3 separate regions of the Homo sapiens genome follow, and all the other regions are linked to region 2. Evidence: promoter capture Hi-C in human tissues and cell types (Jung and others, 2019). All regions are on one chromosome and are shown on one strand. Each heading gives the region's core, a stretch centred on a gene start or on the middle of the fragment in contact. The rest is flanking DNA. Distances are from core to core; before and after follow the strand shown. Region 1 holds the start of VPS72 (vacuolar protein sorting 72 homolog). Region 2 holds the start of ENSA (endosulfine alpha). Region 3 overlaps OTUD7B (OTU deubiquitinase 7B).

Region 1 (2,700 bases), core at 197-2,696, 560 kb before region 2:
GCAAATGGCGCGATCTCGGCTCACTGCAACCTCCGCCTCCCGAGTTCAAGCAATTCTCTGCCTCAGCCTCTCGAGTATCTGGGATAACAGGCGCCCACCACCACGACCAGCTAATTTTTGTATTTTTAGTAGAGATGGGGTTTCGCCATCTTGGCCAGGCTGGTCGTGAACTCCTGACCTCATGATCCACCCCCTTCGGCCTCCCAAAGTGCTGGGATTACAGGTGTGAGCCACAATTTTGTGTCTTTTAACAAATCTTTCCCTGTCCCTTCCTTCCCCCTGCTCTTCCCAGCCTCCAGTATCCTCTGTTCTTTCACTTCTATGAAATCAACTTTTTAAAAGCGTCACATATGAGTGAGAACATGCAGTGTTTTAACTTTCTGTTCGTGGCTTAAGTCAGTTAACATGTCCTCCAGTTCCATCCATGTTGCTGCAAATGACAGGATTTTCTTCTTTTTAATGGCTGAAAAGTATTCCATTGTGTATATACACCCTATTTCCTTTATTCATCTGTTGTTGGACACAGAGATTGATTTCCTATTTTGGCTACTCTAAGTAGTGCTGCAATAAATATGGGGGTGCATAAATATGGAGTGCAGACGTCTCTTGGATATACTGATTTCCTTTTTTTTTTTCCTCCTAAATTGGCTTCCTCAGGTTGAATTATGTCCTTTCCTTTGGATAAATGTCTATGGCTGTGTTTTTAACCACAATACTATGCTTCCTTCCTCAAGGATTTTTGACTTTATCTTGTAGATGATGTGGAGCCATTAAAAATGTTTGAGGACAGGAGTGGCAAAACGTGGGTTTTTAGAAAGTTTCCTACTAGCAGCAGTGTAGAAAATGGACTGGAGCGGAGAGAATGACCTCTTCTAAAAGAAAATGTGAGCTGGGGGCGCAGGCTTATGCCTGTAATCCCAGCACTTTGGGAGGCCGAAGCGGGCGGATCACCTGAGGTCAGGAGTTCGAGACCAGCCTGGCCAACACGGTGAAAGCTGTCTCTACTAAAAATACAAAAATTAGTTGGGCATGGTGGCGGGCGCCTGTAATCCCAGCTACTCGGGGGACTGAGGCAGGAGAATCGCTTCAGCCCGGGGGACGGAGGTTGCAGTGAGCCGAGATCGTGCCACTGCACTCCAGTCTGGCGACAGAGCGAGGCGAGACTCCGTCCCTACGGAAAAAAAAAACCATATATATATATAAAATAAAAATAAATAAAATAAAATGTGTTGACTTAGGGTTATGGGGGTCTTCGTACCACCAAGTGGACTCATTGAGCAAGGGAGATCGCTGGGTACTAGAGCAAGCGGCCTAGAGCATCCGCGCAGGAGTAGGAGAGGCTGAAGAGTAAAGAGGGTTTAGAGGGTGGGACTGGGAGTCTCTCGACACTCTGTTACTTCTGCCTGTAAACGCCCGACTTCCGCCGCTGGTGGCCACCCGCAGGTAGTGATGTCGAGCGTCGAGCTCCCAAAACCGAGCTGGTGAGGGGCTGCAGGTGGCGGCGCAGTCTCGGTAGGCGGTATGAGTTTGGCTGGGGGCCGGGCACCCCGGAAGACCGCTGGGAACCGGCTTTCTGGGCTTTTGGAGGCAGAGGAGGAAGATGAGTTCTACCAGACGACTTATGGGGGTTTCACAGAGGCAAGATCCGGGCCTGGGAAAAGGGAGGGGAGGAGGCAAAGAGGAGCCCTGAAGGGAGAAACCCCGGACAAAGAAGAAGAGGGCGGGGAATAGAGAGGAGCTCTGGGAGCTGATACTCGAGTTGGGTGGGTGAATCGGAGCCGGGGGGCGAGGCGGGGGAACGGATAGTGTGGAGTCCTAGAAGGGAGAGCTCTGGATGGGGTCAAAGGGGCCTGAGACGGAGAAGCTCTCCGGAGGCACTCCAGAGAACAGAGAACGGCAGAAACCTACCGTATACTTGCGTGGTTGCATCTTTCACTGTACTTCTGACGTCCAGCATACACGAGGCACACACATAGTAGTAGACAGTTGCTCGATGTATACTCGTTGGCCCACTGCTGGATTATTCACCTGAGACATGGAAAGGAACCGCTCCAAAAGTAGAGGAGCTTAGCCCACTTCTTTTTCAGCTTTCAGGTCTCAGTGTAAATGTTTTCTCAGGAAGATAACCCTTCCTTGACTATCCTAACAAGTGTCCCCATTTATTTCTTCCACAGAACATATTTCAATTTGCAATTAGATTTGGTTTGCTTACTTGCTTATGCTTTTCTATTGCATTGTAAACTGTATAAAGTTAGAGATGGTCTGTTTTGTTCAACATTATGTGTGAGGTGTCCGGACTGGGCTGCCACTTGCTAAATTTTTATTAGTTGAATCTACCCGTTTATTAAATGTGTTGAGTACCCAGAGCATGCCATCGGTAATAGGTTGTTTTAGGCTCTAGGGAAACAGAATATTAAAAACAGTGCTCTGTCCTTACATACTCCATGCCCCAGTGGGGTAACTGCCTGGGTTAACAGTTAAAATACTGTGTGATAGGCCGAGCACAGTGGCTTTGGCCGGGCACAGTGGCTCACGCCTGTAATCCCAGCACTTTGGAAGGCCGAGGCGGGTGGATCACAAGGTCAGGAAATCGAGACCATCCTGGCCAACATGGTAAAACCCCCTGTCTCTATTAAAATACAAAAATTAGCCAAGCGTGGTGGTGTGCGCCTATAGTCCCAGCTACTCAGGAGGCTGAGG
Region 2 (2,700 bases), core at 167-2,666:
TGCAACCTCCGCCTCCCAGGTAAAAGCGATTCTCCTGCCTCAGGCTCCTGAGTAGCTGGGACTACAGGTGCACGCCACCACGCCTGGCTAATTTTTGTATTTTTAGTAGAGACGGGGTTTCTCCATGTTGACCAGGATGGTTTCTATCGCCTGACATCATGATCCACCCTCATCGGCCTCCCAAGGTGCTGGGATTACATGCGTGGGCCACCGTGCCCAGCCTTGTTTTGTATTTCTAGTAGAGACAGGGTTTCACCATGTTGGCCAGGCTGGTTTCGAACTCCTGACCTCAAGTGATTCGCCCGCCTACGCCTCCCAGAGTGCTGGCATTACAGGCGTGAGTCACCGCGCCCAGCCAGGCCTGTAAGCTTTCTAAGGGCAGAGACTGCCTTACTATACACGTACCCCCCCCAACTAACACAGTACCATCCACATACAGACAGACGCCCAGGAAATGTTAAACTGTAATTCTGGATAGGTTAACTAGTATTAACCGTATTTACCAAATGTTTACCACATACTTACACTGTCCTCCTTGTTTCAAGGAGCGTAGTCCCCAAGGGATCACCCTGATGGAATATAAAAACTACACATAAGAGTGAAACTACGGAACGTAAGCCATTAGTGTTTTGCAAGACAGCTCGGGTTGAGACTCAGTCTCTCTCTTCCACAGGCCAAGTGACACATCGTAATACCATTGGTACCGTTTTATTTTATTTTTCGCGACAAAGTCTCGTCCTGTCACCCAGGCTGGAGTGCAGTGGCGCGATTTCGGCTCACTGCAACCTCCGCCTGCAGGGTTCAAGCGATTCTCCTGCCTCAGCCTCCCAAGTAATTGGGATTACAAACGCCCGCCACCACGCCCGGCTAATATTTGTATTTTTAGTAGAGACGGGGTTTCACCATGTTGGTCAGGCTGGTCTCGAACTCCTAACCTCAGGTGATCCGCCCACCTCGGCCTCCCAAAGTGCTAGGATTACAGGCGTGAGGCACCGCGCCCGGCCTGTTAGTACTACTTTAAAATCGAATCTGACCTCCAAATCATTTTCTGGAGCTCGATCATTTTCTGCTAACACCGCAAAGCTTAATCCTCTCCACCTGAGAATAAAAGGTTCCATCCTTCCGCTCTCCAGTTTGACGCCCTGCTAAGTCTCTCGGACGCGGTGGGCTGGAGTGAAGGAAGCCGGAGCCCACCAAAGCTGCAAAAGTACCACAGCCAGCAGCCCCGCCCCCGATATCCCCCACAGGCTTCCAATTGGTCCTTGTGGCTCACTCTCTTTCCAGGTTGGTGTTCCAGCTTGCCGGTCGCCTCTATAGAGCCCACCTTTAGACGGCGACTATTGGTAGATCGTTACGTCATTGCCCTATCTACCTCACTCCCACTGGCTCTCATAGGAAGGGGCGGTCGCAACGTCACGGGCAAGGGCCGCCATTTTGACTGAGCAACCCTAGTGACAGGAGCCGAAGCAGCAGCGCAGGTTGTCCCCGTTTCCCCTCCCCCTTCCCTTCTCCGGTTGCCTTCCCGGGCCCCTTACACTCCACAGTCCCGGTCCCGCCATGTCCCAGAAACAAGAAGAAGAGAACCCTGCGGAGGAGACCGGCGAGGAGAAGCAGGTGAAGTGGAAGGGGTGCGGGCGGGCGAGCTGGGGAGACCGTGATGGGGCGGGAGACGGTCTCCCACCAGTGCGGATTGGTCGCCATGGTCTCAGGCTCCGCAGGGGTTGGCCACTTTTTGCGTCACGCTGGGTGAGCTTCAACACGACATGCTGCTTTGGCGCTGGTTAGTTGGGTCGTTTGTCACTCAGTACTGTACTCTTCCTGATTGGCCAATAGGCCTACCGCTCAAACCTTGGACGCTGTGCTATAATTGGCCGAGCATGGACGTGGGGCGGGTGGTTGGAAAGACGGTGAATGGAAAGGGGATGGCTGGTGGTCTTGGGTGTGATGTGTGTTATTGGTTTGTAGAGGTAAGTGACCCAGCAACCGGGCTGGGGCCCGCAGCCTCAATCCGCAAAGATAGGGGTCGAGGTAAAGACGTTTAAAAAAAAACCAGTATTGGGGGAGGGGAGAAGTGTAGTTATTATAATGGCTAGTTTAAGGCGGCAACTTTCTCAAGAGACCTATTTTAGTAGCTAAGGATGGTCTATTGCTCACCTTCAGTGAGGACCCAGCAATATTGAAGAGGGCTAGAGTTCCAAACAGAATCATGGTAATTAAACTTGGAAAAGACGCCGACAGGGTCGTGAGAAAGACACTTCTCTCTTCCCCTAGACTTCCAAGGCAGGGACTTAGTGCACCTGCGATTCCGTGATGGAAACACTAACGCCAAATAAACCCCTTATTGGGGTTTGTATTTGACTTTTAAAATTTAGTACTGGGTTCAGGTACTCATTAAATACACTTGGTGTTATATCTATGCGTAATTTCCAAGAGAAAGGAATATAATTCCACTAAAAAGAGTCATACGTTGACTTCATATCTTTTCAAAAAGTCACTAAAGGGCAGCAGGGACCACAAAAAAAAAAAAAAGAGATTGACTACAGTAGTGAGAGTCCCTGCACCACCAGGGTAGGTATTGATTTTTTTGATGAAAACTGGTGGGTAAATACTAGTGAGCCTACTGTATCTTTGTTTTCCTGAGGTTAAAAACAGTATCATTTTCCTCTCTGTTTATCAGCTTGCTACCATAATATTTGTGGA
Region 3 (2,700 bases), core at 145-2,644, 620 kb after region 2:
TTTTCCTTATCTGTAAAATGTGAGCATTCAAGTAAATGAAATAGTTACTGTGTTGGGAATAAAAGAAAAGAAAGGATCTTCCAAACAGAAAGTATAGAATGTACAGTGTGCAATGATGATATGAATGACTAAGTTGTGAGTGGGGGGAATATATGAGAGTGACTGTAGAGAATGTGGGTTGGGCAAGTCATGAGTAGAGCAGGCAAGAGGGTGGAGGGGACTCAGAAGCCAGACTCTGTTGGGTGTTGATAGAAGGGTCAATAGAATCATTGTAGGTCCTTGAACAAAGGACGGATTTAATGAGAAATATTGAGCCCTTTGGTTCAGGAACTCAGGGACAAGGAATCAGGCAGGCATCCGTACATTGTGACTCTTATTTTCTGTACCATCCTAACCTGAAGGGATACAGCCAGGAGGCATAAGATTCCTTGTAGAAGTTTTTGTGTTTACACACCTTACTATGCTGAGCCTGCTTGTTCCTGTCTCGTAGTGCACCAACCTGTGGGGAAGTCTCAAGACTATGGCCGGATTCTCCTCAAGAGCTTATAGTAAGGACAGCATTATGTTTCAAGTGCATTTAACTCTCAGTTGTCTCTGCTAATGTAGGGAGCACTGTTGTAGGTAATTCAGAACTTAACAAAGACATTTCCTGGTTATTTTCAACTGTGTTTTTTTTAGGATTATACCTTATCCCTTTATTTCCTCTAAGAAATAGTTTTAGATAAGAAAAATTACTAAACTGTTATTTGTAGTGACCCACTATGAGTTTAATTCTTTGCTAGGTGCTATGGAGGTTTAGGAAAAATGACAACTTTGCTCCCAGACTGAAGTACAGTGGCGCAATCTCAGCTTACTGCAAGCTCTGCCTCCCAGGTTCATGCCATTGTCCTGCCTCAGCCTCCCGAGTAGCTGGGACTACAGGCGCCCACCACCACGCCCGGTTAATTTTTTGTATTTTTAGTAGAGACGGGGTTTCACCGTGTTAGCCAGGATGGTCTTGATCTCCTGACCTCGTGATCCGCCTGACTCGGCCTCCCAAAGTGCTGGGATTACAGGCGTGAGCCAGTGTGCCGGGCCGAAAATACATTATTTTTTAAACTAGATTTATTTTCATTTTTGGGGATCATACTAATATTGAAATAAATTTGCATTTCTAAGCTTATATTACCTGATGGTGGGGAGAGTACACTGATGATGAAGAACAGTCATTCTTGCATTAAAGATTTGGCCTTAGAAATCCGTAAAATGAATAATCCATTTGTAGATAATTAAGACTAGACTACACTGAATATGTTGATAGACCAATTTCTTTTCAAAATCTGTATGGATCCAATGTGGCCTCCTAGGCTGTCTGTCTTATGTCTGAGAATGACTGGCAGGTGATGCTTGTGTTCCAGCCAGAATGAGCCTTCATTCACAGTATCTGGACGAATGCCACTACATTATGTTGTGTTGTTGAAGATTAAGCCGGCTTTCTCAAAGGACTTGTGCTTTGTAGAGGCTCTTCCAGATATCAGCTTCATTGAAAATCTGTCAGACTTTTCCTCCTGTAGGAAAGTTGTTTGAAAGTATGTCCAATTAAAAAAAAAAGGAATGGGCAGAAGTGTCCACATTTAAGAAGTAAACAAAATCACATGCCATTCTTTCATCCCTTTTTTTTCTTCTCCAGTTGACTTGCTTTTCTCCATCCCTGCCACTCTCCCCCACCTCTTTATAATCATTACCAAACTGATGTCACGAGCACAGGATTATTATTTACTTCTTGAGTCAGGAGATTGTAGTATTTCTGAGCTAGAAATCAGGTGGAAAAGTCAGGAATCTTATTTTATACAACTAGATAGGGATTATTTTCAACTGTGCTTTTTTTAGGATTATACCTTAGCCCTTTATTTCCTCTAAGAAATAGCTGTAGATAAGAAAATTACTAAACTGTTATTTGTAGTGACCCACTATGAGTTTAATTCTTTGCTAGGTGCTATGGAGGATTAGGAAAAATGACAACTTTGTGTCCTTGAAGAGTTTACAGTCCAGTTGGGAGTAAGAAGAATAAAAAGGAATGAATACTTGCTGAGCCTCTTAATATGCCACACAAAATTTTAAAATGTGAAACTATATTGTTAGTTGCATAGTGCAGACCTCATACCGTAGGTATTTGGGGAGAGGAGTACTCAGGTAGTTATGTCACAGAGGAATTATAACTCATTTCAGATCTTAATAAAAAAATAGGCCAGGCACAGTGGCTCACGCCTGTAATCCCAGCTACTCAGGAGGCTGAGGCAGGAGAATCACTTGAACCCAGGAGATGGAGGTTGCAAACAGCCGAGATAGCACCACTGCACTCCAGCCTGGGTGACAGAGCAAGACTCTGTCTCCAAAATAAATAAAAAAATAAATGAATAAGTGTTATTGTATTAGGTACAAGGGATGAAGATGAAGAGGATAACAAAACATTTCATATTGGAGCTGAAAGGGATCAAGCGAAAGCCTGGAAACAGGACTATACCTGAGATGTTCTTGGGGCGGTGAGGAGACTAACCTGAGTGGCAGTGAGCAGTAGTGAAATGAAGGTGGGTAGGTTGGTTTGGAGCTATGTTTATAGAGGGTGTTAAAAAGCTAGGCTTATAAGTTTATATATATATATAAAATTTATTTATTTATTTATTTATGTATTTATTTATTTATTTTTTTGAGACAGGGTCT

Evidence for each region. Contacts are between HindIII fragments. The study calls those that stand out against the background at their distance.
Region 1: a contact is called between the fragment with the promoter of VPS72 here and the fragment with the promoter of ENSA in region 2, in 1 of the 25 tissues and cell types used here (adrenal gland).
Region 3: a contact is called between a fragment that was not itself captured here and the fragment with the promoter of ENSA in region 2, in 1 of the 25 tissues and cell types used here (hippocampus).

What each region holds. Positions count from the first base shown.
Region 1 is chr1:151,188,943-151,191,642 of GRCh38, reverse strand. It overlaps VPS72 (vacuolar protein sorting 72 homolog), which reads left to right and starts at 1,446. Exons shown (of 6, transcript NM_005997.3): 1 at 1,446-1,638. The coding sequence starts at 1,522. RefSeq lists enhancers at 1,302-1,361, 1,402-1,471. The HindIII fragment of the contact is 20,238 bases long and covers 1-2,700 here.
Region 2 is chr1:150,628,328-150,631,027 of GRCh38, reverse strand. ENSA (endosulfine alpha) reads left to right here and starts at 1,416. Exons shown (of 4, transcript NM_004436.4): 1 at 1,416-1,614. The coding sequence starts at 1,558. It overlaps LOC112268239 (a long non-coding RNA gene), which reads right to left and starts at 1,209. Exons shown (of 2, transcript XR_007066603.1): 1 at 526-1,209. RefSeq lists enhancers at 1-721, 722-1,689, 1,432-1,701. The HindIII fragment of the contact is 5,200 bases long and covers 727-2,700 here.
Region 3 is chr1:150,004,553-150,007,252 of GRCh38, reverse strand. All of the region lies in intron 1 of OTUD7B (OTU deubiquitinase 7B), which reads left to right. Among named protein-coding and RNA genes, the nearest start is that of OTUD7B, 4.8 kb to the left of the region's middle. The HindIII fragment of the contact is 6,747 bases long and covers 1-2,700 here.